Linked DNA regions of Homo sapiens: regions 2 and 3 are each linked to region 1. The links are contacts of gene promoters, found by promoter capture Hi-C in blood cells and fetal thymus (Javierre and others, 2016). All regions are on one chromosome and are shown on one strand. The core of a region is centred on a gene start or on the middle of the fragment in contact, and the rest is flanking DNA. Distances in the headings are between cores, read along the strand shown.

Region 1 (3,864 bases), core at 451-2,950:
GGGAATTGGATACAAAATTTCATCCCTACCTCTCTGTACCCTGTTTCTCTGCAATCCTCATTTCACCAACGGGAAAGCAGAGGCTCACCAGGATGAGGCACTTTTCCCAGTATCAGTCAGCTGAAGGGATCTATAGAGCCCTCTCTCCAGTCACAGCAGCTCGTCACCCCTGGAGGTCTACCTGCCATCCTTCTTGTGTCACCCCTGGACGTCTACCTGCCATCCTTCTTGCTGCAGAGCTCCCTCCTGCCTACCTCTGTCCTCAGCACAGAGACGAACCTGGCCAAGGCTCCCATTTCCCAGATGTCAACACCAGCCCAGTAAACCACAAATGCATCCTGTGTGCAGGCCTCCCCAGTCACTCTCAATCTATTAATCCAATCCATCCCAGCACCCCAGCCCAACATGCCACCCAAACCGCCTCATTCCAGGCCCCCTCCCCCACCCTTTCTTTCTTTGCCCAGAGGACACCTGGCTGCCCGAGTTTGTGTTCCCACAACTGCCCCCAGCATGGGCTTGCCTGGGCCAAGAGGGCCCTCCCGAGGACTGGCCAGAACAAGGAAAGGGACAGGAAAGGCCACATCTGGATCACAGCCCTGAAGCCCCCTCCCCCAAACCAGCCATCACTCTCTCAGAGCCCAACAGTAACCTCAGCCAGGGACGACTTCCTCACCCTCCTGACCCCATGCATGCCTTTGCCTGGCCAAGACAGCCCCACAGGAGCCCCTCTGAGGAAGGGGTCCTCTCCTCCTCTGACCCCCAGCCCTTCTGCAGCAGGCAGCCCTCTCCCATCCCCCTTTACCCAGGAGCCTCAGCCCAGGTCTGGCCTTAAGACTTTTAACCTTCACCACGTGGCCCCCAGGCCTCTCTGCTGGCCCCCCTGGCATCCCCATCCTGAAACCCACCTCCCTGAACCTGGAGCCAAGAGAGAAAGGGGGAAGAGCGGGCCATGGCTCCCTCCTCCAGGATGGAGAGGTCTTGGTAGCAGGGGAGGGCTGTGGAGGAAGGGATGGCAGTGGGTGGAAGCTGAAACTGGGTGTAGAAGGAATAAAAGGGATGGACTCTGAGAATTCTCCCACAGCCCAGCTCTTCCAGACTTAATATTTTGGACTACTATTCTTTGCTCCCCAGCCCCACCACTGCCTCCTCCTCAAGATCTTGGGCTCAGCAACTGAGGGGGGGCGGTGAAGAATTTTCACCCCATTGTAGGATGCAAGTCGGGAGGAAAGGCTCTAAAGAGAAGCAAACTTCTCTGTGGCCTCCTTCCACTTACAGCTCTGGGACTCCATTGGGGGGTGGGGGGGTGGGGCAGGGGATGTACTGACCCGGGACCCTGGGCCTGGGCCCTGTTGGTGGGGAAAGTCTTCCGGCTGAGGGTTGCTCAAGTCAGTCTGTCCTTCTGTAGGTCAGAGACAGAAAGGCCCCTCCTTCAAGACTGACACCCCCCGACCCCGGGCTCTCAGCAAAAGGATAAGGTGGCAGGGGCCGGTGGGGGGCGGGGGGTTTGAGGAAGAGTAACGTCGCAGCTAAAGCAGCCAGACCTACCCAGAGCATGCAGGACAGACAGATCCACGTCATCTTTGCTGGGTCCCGTCACTGAGGCACGCCCAGGGCCTGTGAAGAGCCCCTGAAGCTAGAGTCCCCGCGGCGCTGGCAGAAGGGCTCTCTGAGTCCGCGGCTGCTCCGGCTCCGCCAGCATCTGCTGGGCCTCTCGCCCTGCTGCCTCCAGCTCACCCTCCCTCCTCCTCCTCCTCCCCCCACTCCACCCCTCGTCCCAGCCTCCTCTCTCCTCCCTCCTCCCAGGCTCCACCGGTGGCCTTGAGGGTCAGGAACCCTGCTTTGCAGGGGGTGTAAAGGGGACAGGGAAAAGGGAAAGCTACCAGAGGCAGGGCCCCCCCAGGCCGTGCCCCCCACCCCCGGACACACAACCCCTGTGTGCCACCAAGGCTCCTCAGTCTTCTGATCTGGTGCTGGTAGGCCTGGAGTCCTCCCTCCTCACTGCAGACCCCCGCCCCTGGCAAACCAGCCTGGGGGCCTTCACTCCTGGAACCCTCCAGACCACTGATGGATGAACAGACAGCCCCAGGCCCACACAATCAGCACACTCAGGGTGCCTTGGCCCCTCCCCTTCTCTGAGTACCCGTGCCTGCCTTCCTGGCCTCCTCGGAACACACATGCATTTGCACACACAGACTGGGACAGACTCTGGTGCCCACGCGCCAAGCTCAGAGCCCAGGACAGGCCTTAACACAGAAGAAATAGGGCCCGAGACTGGGGAAGAATGGCCCTGCCCCCAGGCTGTGGGTTTCATTCCAATTTTTTTCCTATTTCTTTTTTTTTCCCCCTTCTTTCTTTCTTTCCTGCAAACATCTGTCCCAGCCTTTCCTGCCCTTCTGAAAGGGAGCCCCGCTCCAGGCTCCCGCGAGAGTGTGTTTTTCTTGACTGTACCCGGGGCCAACATTTGGTTTGCATTTCCCCACTTCCTCCCCCTCCTCCCCTCTCCCCCTCCCTGGGCCCAGTTCTCCCCTCCCACCATTCCACAGGCCTATTTCTTCCCCTCAGTGTCCCCTGCCCACCAGCCCTCCCCTCCCCTCGCCCCCACCTCTGCCCAGGGACAATTGTTGGGGGTCTAGAGGGTGGAAAGGAGGCTGGGTCAAAACCCAAAAGTATTCCCACGGAGCACTAAGGGGGAATCCAGCAAAGTCTGCCCCAGGCCTTCATTGTCTGGAACCACCACGTTCCCCTCCAAAAAAAACCCTTCCTCTTTGAGCTCTGGCCTTGGCTGGACCAACTGAGGGTGGGTGGGGGCCAGTGAATCACCCGCTCTGTTCTTTGGAGCTGTCCAGGAGAAGGAGGGAGGGCTCAGCCCCACACCCTCCTGTGGACACACACACACACAAGGACACAGTCCAACTCACGTCAACACATAAGAGCCCTCCCAGAGTAGGCACTTGGAGACCTCGTTCCTAGACTGAGTCACTTAGCAAGAAAAGTTCTCTTGCCTGGCCTCCTATGCACACTGTGCTATACATGCCCTGGGGCCACATGCACGAAGGGTTACAGATCCCCTGCCTCCCCCCCCCACTCACCCAAGGCCATGCCATGCCGCTGTCTGTCAGCACCACATACCGTGCAACTACCAGCCTCCTCTTTCACAGGGATCTGCCCAGCCACTTGTGCCAACTCCCAGCCCAGGGACCACCCAAGACATCTACCTGGGAAACCCCAGAATGAAGGGGAAACACTGACTCTTCATCTGAAAAAAAGACTGCAGTATTCAGATACACAGGTTGTCCACAGCACAAGGGACTAACCATCTATTGTTTGGTGGTTCTGAGAAGTCAGGGGAGGACACTGAAGTGAAGTGTCAATTTCCAGCCCTTCCTAAAGCAGGTACCTGAGTGAAGAGTCTTTGTTCCGGTAGAGGAGTCAGGGTCCTCTCTCCATACTTCTCCAAGTCCTCCAGAGCTCTGGGGCTGGGAAAGATCCTGCCTCTAGTGTCCTTCCCTGCCAGGATCACAATGTCCCTCTGGACCCCCTACTCTAAGCCTCCTGGGGCTTCACTGACATTTTAGCCAACGCTGAAATGAACCAGTGTTCCACATGCAGTTGGCCCTGCAGTCACAGCTGGGGATGTCCATAGACAGAAACCTCTGCAAACCCTCCCGTCTCCCCTGGCTGGAGCACCAGGCAAGCAAAGGGGAGTGGTCTTCAGGAGGCCTCTCTGAGAGCCCCTGAGCCCCTCCTCAGCCACTATCACCAGCTCTGCCAGGCTGCCCTTGTCCCCTGACAAGTTCAAGCCTTCAGCCAGCTAAGCCCTGACATCCCAGTGCCCACTCACACCAAGCTCCCCGCTGCCTGCTC
Region 2 (3,921 bases), core at 106-2,605, 110 kb before region 1:
TCCTGACCACTGGAATCCTAAGGAATTCTCCAGTCTCTGGAATTCCTGCCTCTACCTCCGAGGGGGGCATGCAGAACTTCCCACCTCCACCCCACTGCCTAGGAAACTCAAAGGCACTGTGTCATCTCCTGGGGAGAAAAGGGGACAGCCCAGTCTGGAATAGGCAGGATAGAGAGAGGGGTGGCAGGGCACCAAGTCCCATAGAACCCTGGACTCCTAAAATCAGAAATAGGTGGATTTGCATCCACTCTTGCACTCTGTAAAGGAATACACTTTATTATGGTACAATAGCCATCACTCAATGAATGTCTGCCACCTGTCAGCCTGTCTTAAGGACTTTACATCTAACAGCTGGCTTAATTCTCTCAACAACAATAAGAGGTAGACCTCAGACCCACTTTACGGACACAGAAGCTAGGGCTTAGTGAGGCTAAACAGCTAAGATCATGTAGTTAGTAAAGGCAGAGCCAGAATTTGAACCCAGGACTTTCTGAGGTTTAAAGCCAAGCTCTTAACAATGCCCCAATGCAGCTAACAGGTGGGTCTCTATAGTGGTTGAATAGTATCCTCAAAACGTCATGTCCACCCAGAACTTCAGAATACAACCTTATTTGGAAATAGTGCCTTTGCCAGTGTAAGTAGTTAAGGATCTCAATATGACATCAACCTGGATCTAGGGTGGACCCTAAGTCCAATAATTGATGTCCTTGTAGGAAGAGAAGACACACAGAGAGACACTGAAGAAGGCCACGTGGAGATGGAGGTAGAGATTGGAGTGATGCGCTACAAACCAAGGAATCCCACCGCAAGCTAGGAAAAGGCAAGAAGGGATTCTCTGCCATAGGATTCAGAGGGAGCATGGCCCCGTCAACACCTTGATTTCAGATTTCCAGCCTTCAGAACTGTGAGAGAATAAATTTCTGTTATTTTGAGCCACCAGATTTGAGGTAGAGTCATCACTTGGTGTCTATGGAGGATTTGGATCTAGGACCCCTCCACCCCGCCATGGATAGTGGATACCAAAATCCATGGGTGCTCAGGTCTCTTACATAAAATATGTACTATTTACATATAACTTGCATATAAAAAATGTACTATTTGCATATAACTTATGCATATACTTCCGTAGACTTTAAATCATCTCTAGGTTACTTGTAATACCTAATACAATATAAACGCTCTGCAAATAGTTGTTCTGCTGTATTGTTTTTATTTGTATTGTTTTTTATTGTTATTTACTGTTGGGTTTTTTCTGAATATTTTCAACTCATGATGGATTGAGTCCAAAGAGGTGAAACCCATGGATAGAAAGGGCCACCTCATTTGCTACAGTGGCCCTGGGAAACTAATGCAGCCTCCTACATCCCACCTCAAACACCCTGGGGACAGCCACCTGAGGTTGTACAGATCAGATCTGTGGGTCCAGTCCACAGGCACCTCCCTCTAAAATGGACCTGAGCCCTCCTCTGGGGCCAAGGACGGATCAGCCTTTCTGCGTTAGTGGAGACCACCGCCAGCACCTCTCTCCCGTGTGCCAAGGTGACTCCTCTGGGCCAGGCCGAGCCAGGTGCCAGCAACCCAGGGTCCCTTAAGACACATGTTGCCAAGACTCTGCCCTCAGACTTCTCAGAGGCACCGACCCTGTGCCAGCTCTGCCACTTCCTGACCCTGCAACCTTAGGCAAATAACCCCACCTCTCTGTGCTCTGGCAAGTGCCTGCTTGCTAGGGCTGCTGCAAAGGTTAAGTGCGTGGAAAGCAGTTGGAACAGGGCCTGGCTAGTAGCAAGCGCTCAATAACCTGAACTCTTATTGGTACTCTCTTCTCCTGGCCAGCACACACATGCACACACAGAGTTCCAGATGCTACATTCCAGCTGCAGCACACTCCTTAGAGGAGAGCTGGGCTGGAGAGTGATTGAAGACTCAGGCACGAGAGCTGCCTGAGGGGAAAGGCAGATAAACAAAGAGAAGAGGGCATGCTGGCACAGGGGCTGGTGGCAGGGATACCAGTCATGTAGAGGTGGTGAGCAGATGGAAGCATAGAGGGCACAGGACAGTGGGCACGAGGATCCATCCTCACCAGGTAGTTGCCTCCATGTTTGGACTTGAGCATCTGCGCCACCTCACGGAGGTTGCTCCGGAAGTTCTCCTCATTGGCTGTGCTGGGGAAGGAGACAGCGATGATCCTCTCTGTGACGTACACCAGGTCCAGCTCACAGCTGTCCTCCATGGTCCGGCTCACACTCATGTTTCTAGGGAGACAGCAGGCAGCGGAGGGTCCATATCAGAATCCAGCCCACAGGGAAGGCCCCAGATAGCTGCACCCCATACACACCCTGTGTGACCCCCATATGCAGCCCAGGGTGCTTGGCTGCTCTTCAACCCAAGGCCAAGGCCACAGGCTTCCTCTGGCAAGGCCAATGTGGCCGGCTTGGGAGTGCCGGCGAGAACAAGCTGGGTAGGGCTGGCAAGGACCTCAGGCCATTTCAGAACCAAACTGTGATGACACCAATTCTTGGTTCCCATCAGTCCTTTGGCCACTGCCTTCAACCTGTGACTCCAGAGCTCAGAGCCAGGGCCAGACTGGCCCAGGAACCCAGGAGCTCTGGCTCCCAACACTGGCTGCCTGGCCAGGCAGAAGTCTCCCGAAAGGCCCCAGACTGCTCTGGAAGAGGAAGGAGAGCCTGCGCTGGGCGCTCTCCAGCCCTGGAACGGAGACTTCCCACTGCCCGCCCCTAGCTCTCGAGCTGTGGAGTGGGCGGGAAACCTCTCAGGGGAGGGGGCATCTCAGGTGACACGTTCACCTGGGTTCCAGGTAAGCCAGACCACAGCACACATTCCAGCCCTCCCGGAGGCAGGCCAACTCCTGCCCTTTGTTCCTTGGCCTTCTCCCCACCTCTGGCAGCTCCCACTGCCTGCCAGAGCTGCTTCTTGGCAGCAGCCTCCCTGATTTCTAAGGGCCCAGAAAACAAGAGGGCACAGAGCCCTTGTTGCTGCAGTGGCGGGCAGCCGCCAGCACCATGCGTTTCCCGGAGAGGTGGGGAGGCCCCTGGGCTGGCCATCCTCTCCACTGGGCACTGGGTGAGGAAGGGAGGGGCTCGCATCTTTACATCTCTCCCAACTTTTCTTCCAGAGGAAGGGTCCAGGATGCCCACTTGGGAAGCCCACCTCTTGCTTCTAGAAGCACCTCCCCCATCCCTCCAGCTTTTTCCCCAATCATTGACCTCCTAGTGTCTCGCTTCCCCCTCTATCAAATGCAGGCAGCACTGACATTTCATTCTGCTAACCTTTCACCACAGCGGGATAAAGTGGAGAGTGGAGGGCAGCGAAAGGAATACCACTGGGGTATTTAAAAGTGATGAGGGCTCTCTGGCACTAGACAGAACAAGCCCCCAGATGCTGAGAAGCCATGAGGAATCCAGACCTCCACCAGGGTTCAATCCCAGTCCAGGTGGGGTGTGGAGATGGGGCAGCCAAGGATGAGGCATGGCAGGACCTCTCTGTTGGGATGACAGGGGCCTGAGTGGGACTGGGGACCAGCACCCAGAGGTAAGGAGCCCGGTTTGAGTTTGACTCTGAGTCCCAGCTACTTCTTGTCCCTATGGAAAGCTTCTCATTGCAGCTGTGGGGGAGAAGTTTCTATCTCAAGCCAACTGCCTACCCAAGGACAGTTCTTGTAGGTGGTGACCAGTCTGGGACAAGAAGCCACACGCACACATACCTGCAAGCAAGTGGGTGTGAGGGCGGGGAGCCTCAGCTAACTTGCAGCATCCCCTCCTCCCCATCCTCCAAAACCCCTCTCTGTTCTGGCTCCAAGGAAGAAACTAGAATGTCAGAAAAACTCGCAAGACAAGCTCCTGTGATTTCAGCCTCTCCCTCAGCACAGGAAGGGGAGCAAGAGGGGCCGTGCTGGTGAGGGCC
Region 3 (3,777 bases), core at 958-3,457, 120 kb before region 1:
CACCCTTCCCTCTACCTATTTCGAGAGGCCTGCCACTCATCAGAAGCATTCCTGAGTGAGCGGCCCACACTCTTCTCTGTGGGTCGGGCCAGGGGCTCAGCTGTTGCCTGCACTGAAGTCTTGCTGAACGCCTGCCTCAGGGCAAGCCCAGTGGCCTCCGGGGTGCCACGCTCCAGCACACCCCCCTCGCCTAACCCTCCCTCTTCCTAACAGTCAGGATGGGTTGACTTTCTCTGTCCATGGGTGAGAGGTAGCAGCCAGAGAGGTACTAGGCTTAGTGGGACCCAGGTACTGCCACAAAACCAGATGCCCAAAGCAGGCCCCTAGGGACGTCAGCCAACCCAGGACAGCACAGGGGGCAACGCGGTGGCTTGAAACCCAGATCTGCTCTTGACTGGCTTGGCAAGCTGGGGCAGGTTACTTAACCCCTCTGTGCTCCAGTTTCCCCATTTGGACATAATAAGAGTCATAGAATGGCTGGGAGCATCAAATGAAATGGCAACTACCAAGTTCTTGGTGCCATGGCTGGTGCATGGTAAATCCAGGCCTTCTCCCTTAGCCATGTCTTGCAGGCGCCTGACACACTGGCCACAGCTGACACAAATGTGTCACGGACCCCCAAGAAAACACCACATGCAGTCCTTCCTCAGGCCGTGCTGCCCACAAGGGGCTCAAAATGATTTGTTGACTGAATTCCCATTTTACAGCAGGTCAAACCGAGGCCCCAAGGACAGTACCTTGTCAAAGGATTTGAAGCCAGGTAGTTTGGCTGCAGAGGCTGCATTCTTAACCACATACTAACTGCCTCTCATGAAGGCCGCTATAGGCAGGTAGAGGGGACAGAGGGTTGGTGAGGGAAGGCCCTGGCCGCTTCTTCTGCCCCCTCGCCCTTCCTTTTTTCCCTTCTAATCCATTCCCTCAGACAGAGGGATGGAACCAGCAGGACCTTTTGGTCAGTTAAAGGTCAGCTCATCCTGCAAGGACAGAGGGGCCCTGTCTGGAGGCTGAGAAGCTGGCCCTCTGCCGAGAGGGGGAGCCGCTCTCGGCTCTGCTGTCCCTGGGCTGCCTCCCACTCTGACCGTCTGCTCTTCTTCCTTCCCCCACAGCCAAATACATCCTAAGCCCCGTCTTTCCCACATCTCCTCCTCACCGTTAATTATTTTACCTTTTATTTGCCTGGCACTTTATAGTTTACTAAATGTTTTTACATTTATCATCGCATTGACCATGCACCAAGAAGAGATGGAGAGACAGTAAAAATTCTTTCCAATTGCCAAATGTTCTTGTTAAAAATGCAAACATCCCCAGCACAACGACCAATTAGGCTGGCAGCCACTGAAACCTCAGAACAAATTCGCTCCAGCCTCTGCTTTCTGCTTGGCCGCTCAGCGCCCGGGGATGGAGGAGTGCTTTTCACAAGCAGCCTGGGGGGTCGGAGGGGCCTGGTGGGGTGTCTTGGCCAATCTGAGGGTGCTGGGCCCCTGGGGGAGGAAAAGGGGTTGGGAACTGAGGCAGGTGTGAGGACAGGCCATCCACTTTTCAATGTTGCACGTAAAAAAATGTGCTCTCAGTGAGTCCCCAAATTCTAGTCCAACCACCCTCCCTCATCCCACTTCTCTCTGAAACCTTGTGCTCATTCTGGTGACCCCAAGGTCAGAGGAGAAATCTTTATTCAAGGAAAGGCCCAAAGATTTTCAGAGAGGAGTCATCAAATCCAAAACCTTGGGGAGGGAGACAGAAGACAGCGCCGTGTAGAGGAAAGAGGGCACAGGGAGGCCCCCAGGCCTACCTATCTCTAACCTAGCTCTGCCATGGGACCCAGGGGCCCCAGGATGGCACAGCCCCACCCAGGACTGGCTTCAGCTGGGAGGAGAAGCCAGACGCTGGGTGCTGGCATCCTTGAAAGGGCCATCCTGGGTCACGGGGGTAAATCAGGAGGTTCTGCCTCTGGGAAGGGTCTCAGTCACCCCAACTGAACACAGATGGGTGATGGGCTGGACCATCCTGAAGGTCCTCCCAGCTCCAACATTCTGCAGTCCTACGACCAACTCAAGAAAAGAAGCTTGTGGCCAAACCCCAGGCAGGGCATCTCAAGAGTTCCTGGGCTCTGGGCATGCTCACTTTCGGAGCCCGCCCCACGTCTCCTTACACATATGCAGATAGACCACATAAATAAATAGAATGCATGTAGAACTCTCAAGAGACGACCTGAGTTGCAGTGGACCATTTGACATAATGTTAGGTTTGTAGCTAAATTAAACATGTATTAATTTCAATTCTGCTGCTTTCTTTTCAAATTTCAGAGCCTATCAGTTTGTTCCCAGCTCTCAAACATTTTTGTTGGCTGTTGATGAAAGCTTGTAGGCCCTAGATCCTGTGCCTCTGTTCCTAGTACTCTGACCCCAGAGAACTCAGGCAGCAAGCCTGAAGAAACCCAACAGTGGGTTTAATACACATGTGACAAATGCTGTTTTTGCAGCACAGTGGGGGGTATCTCAAGCTCCACTCAAGGCCACATCCTCCAAGGAGCCTTCCCAGATCACTCCAGCTCTCAAAATCCCTCCCTGCCAATCCCAGAGAACTCACTGTCCACGGAACTTACTTGGCTGTAGCAACACACTTCCACGATAACCCCCTTGTGGCCATTTTGCTGCCTTCTTTGGCTCTGTCCTCACTTTTATTTAATACATTCATATATGTGCCTTATCTTCCCCCAGTTAACGGTGAGCTCTCGGAGGTACCTCACACTTCCCCTCTGCCTCCTCTCGAACCCAGATCTCTTGAAAGCAGGCCAAGAGAAGCAAGGTCATGTGAGCAGAGGCTGTGCAGTTTGGATAGGGGCTGGGAGCCACTAGGTCCCACCTACCCTCCATGCCGTCATCTCGATGCCCACTGAAGTTGTCGTAGGAGTCCCAGCGGATGAGGGGGTCGGAGGTGTTATAGTCCACAGACACGCTCGGCCCGTTCTCCAGGTGCTCCATGCCTAAGTGGGATGGGAAAGGCAGCGGCAGTCGGGGAGACAGTGCAGAGAGGGAAAAGAGATCAGCAGCTGGAAAAACAGAGAAAGCCCACAAGCTCCCCAAAAGAGGCTCCCTGAGGGACTTCTCATTTTCTTGAGCGTGGTGGGCGGGACCAGTGGCTTAAGCTGGACTGAGAACTGGGAGTCTAGTTTCTCACATTCTTGAAAAGGCTCATGCCGGGTCATAGGGGTAAATCAGGACAGGCACTGAAGAATGAAGACCCCCTGGAAGAAAGCGGGGAGGACCCCTGGCTGGGTACCTGCCTCTTTTTCTTCTGTGTCCCTGGGGCTCCTGAGGCAGTGCCAAGAGACTAGAAAGTCTGCCCCTGGGGTCAGACCCTGGGGGTGGGGGGCAGGCTGCTTATGAGCTACGTGGGATCAGGGACAGCAGGGAAATCACAGCCCCGACATTGAAAGGACATAAAGCCTCCAAAGGGTCATCCCAGGCATGGCCCTGCCCCCTCTTAAAACGCTCTCCGCTCCAGACAGAAACCTAGGGGGCACGGCAGAATCTCCCAGCCATCCACAGAAAACCCAGCTCAGCATTGGGACAAATACCTAATGCATGCAGAGCTTAAAAGTAGACGATGGGTTGACAGGTGCAGCAAACCACCATGGCACATATATGCCTATGTAACAAATCTGCACATTCAGCACGTGTATCCCAGAACTTAAGGTAAAATAAAAATAAATAAGTAAATTTTTAAAAACCTGGCTCAAAGACAGCATAGCTCCTAGTCAAGTCTGTCAGGGTGAGT

Evidence for each region. Contacts are between HindIII fragments. The CHiCAGO score rates a contact against its expected background, and 5 or more counts as called.
Region 2: a contact is called between a fragment that was not itself captured here and the fragment with the promoter of TNS1 in region 1, in 2 of 17 cell types (megakaryocytes and M2 macrophages). The highest score is 6.2, in megakaryocytes.
Region 3: a contact is called between a fragment that was not itself captured here and the fragment with the promoter of TNS1 in region 1, in 1 of 17 cell types (M2 macrophages). The highest score is 6.3, in M2 macrophages.

Annotation. Positions count from the first base shown.
Region 1 is chr2:218,001,295-218,005,158 of GRCh38, forward strand. It overlaps TNS1 (tensin 1), which reads right to left and starts at 1,701. Exons shown (of 33, transcript NM_001387777.1): 1 at 1,546-1,701. The coding sequence starts at 1,578. RefSeq lists enhancers at 145-645, 646-1,146, 2,887-2,986. The HindIII fragment of the contact is 26,666 bases long and covers 1-3,864 here.
Region 2 is chr2:217,895,718-217,899,638 of GRCh38, forward strand. It overlaps TNS1 (tensin 1), which reads right to left. Exons shown (of 33, transcript NM_001387777.1): 8 at 2,081-2,252. Among named protein-coding and RNA genes, the nearest start is that of MIR6809, 3.0 kb to the right of the region's middle. The HindIII fragment of the contact is 4,504 bases long and covers 1-3,607 here.
Region 3 is chr2:217,878,032-217,881,808 of GRCh38, forward strand. It overlaps TNS1 (tensin 1), which reads right to left. Exons shown (of 33, transcript NM_001387777.1): 18 at 2,867-2,983. Among named protein-coding and RNA genes, the nearest start is that of MIR6809, 21 kb to the right of the region's middle. The HindIII fragment of the contact is 295 bases long and covers 2,061-2,355 here.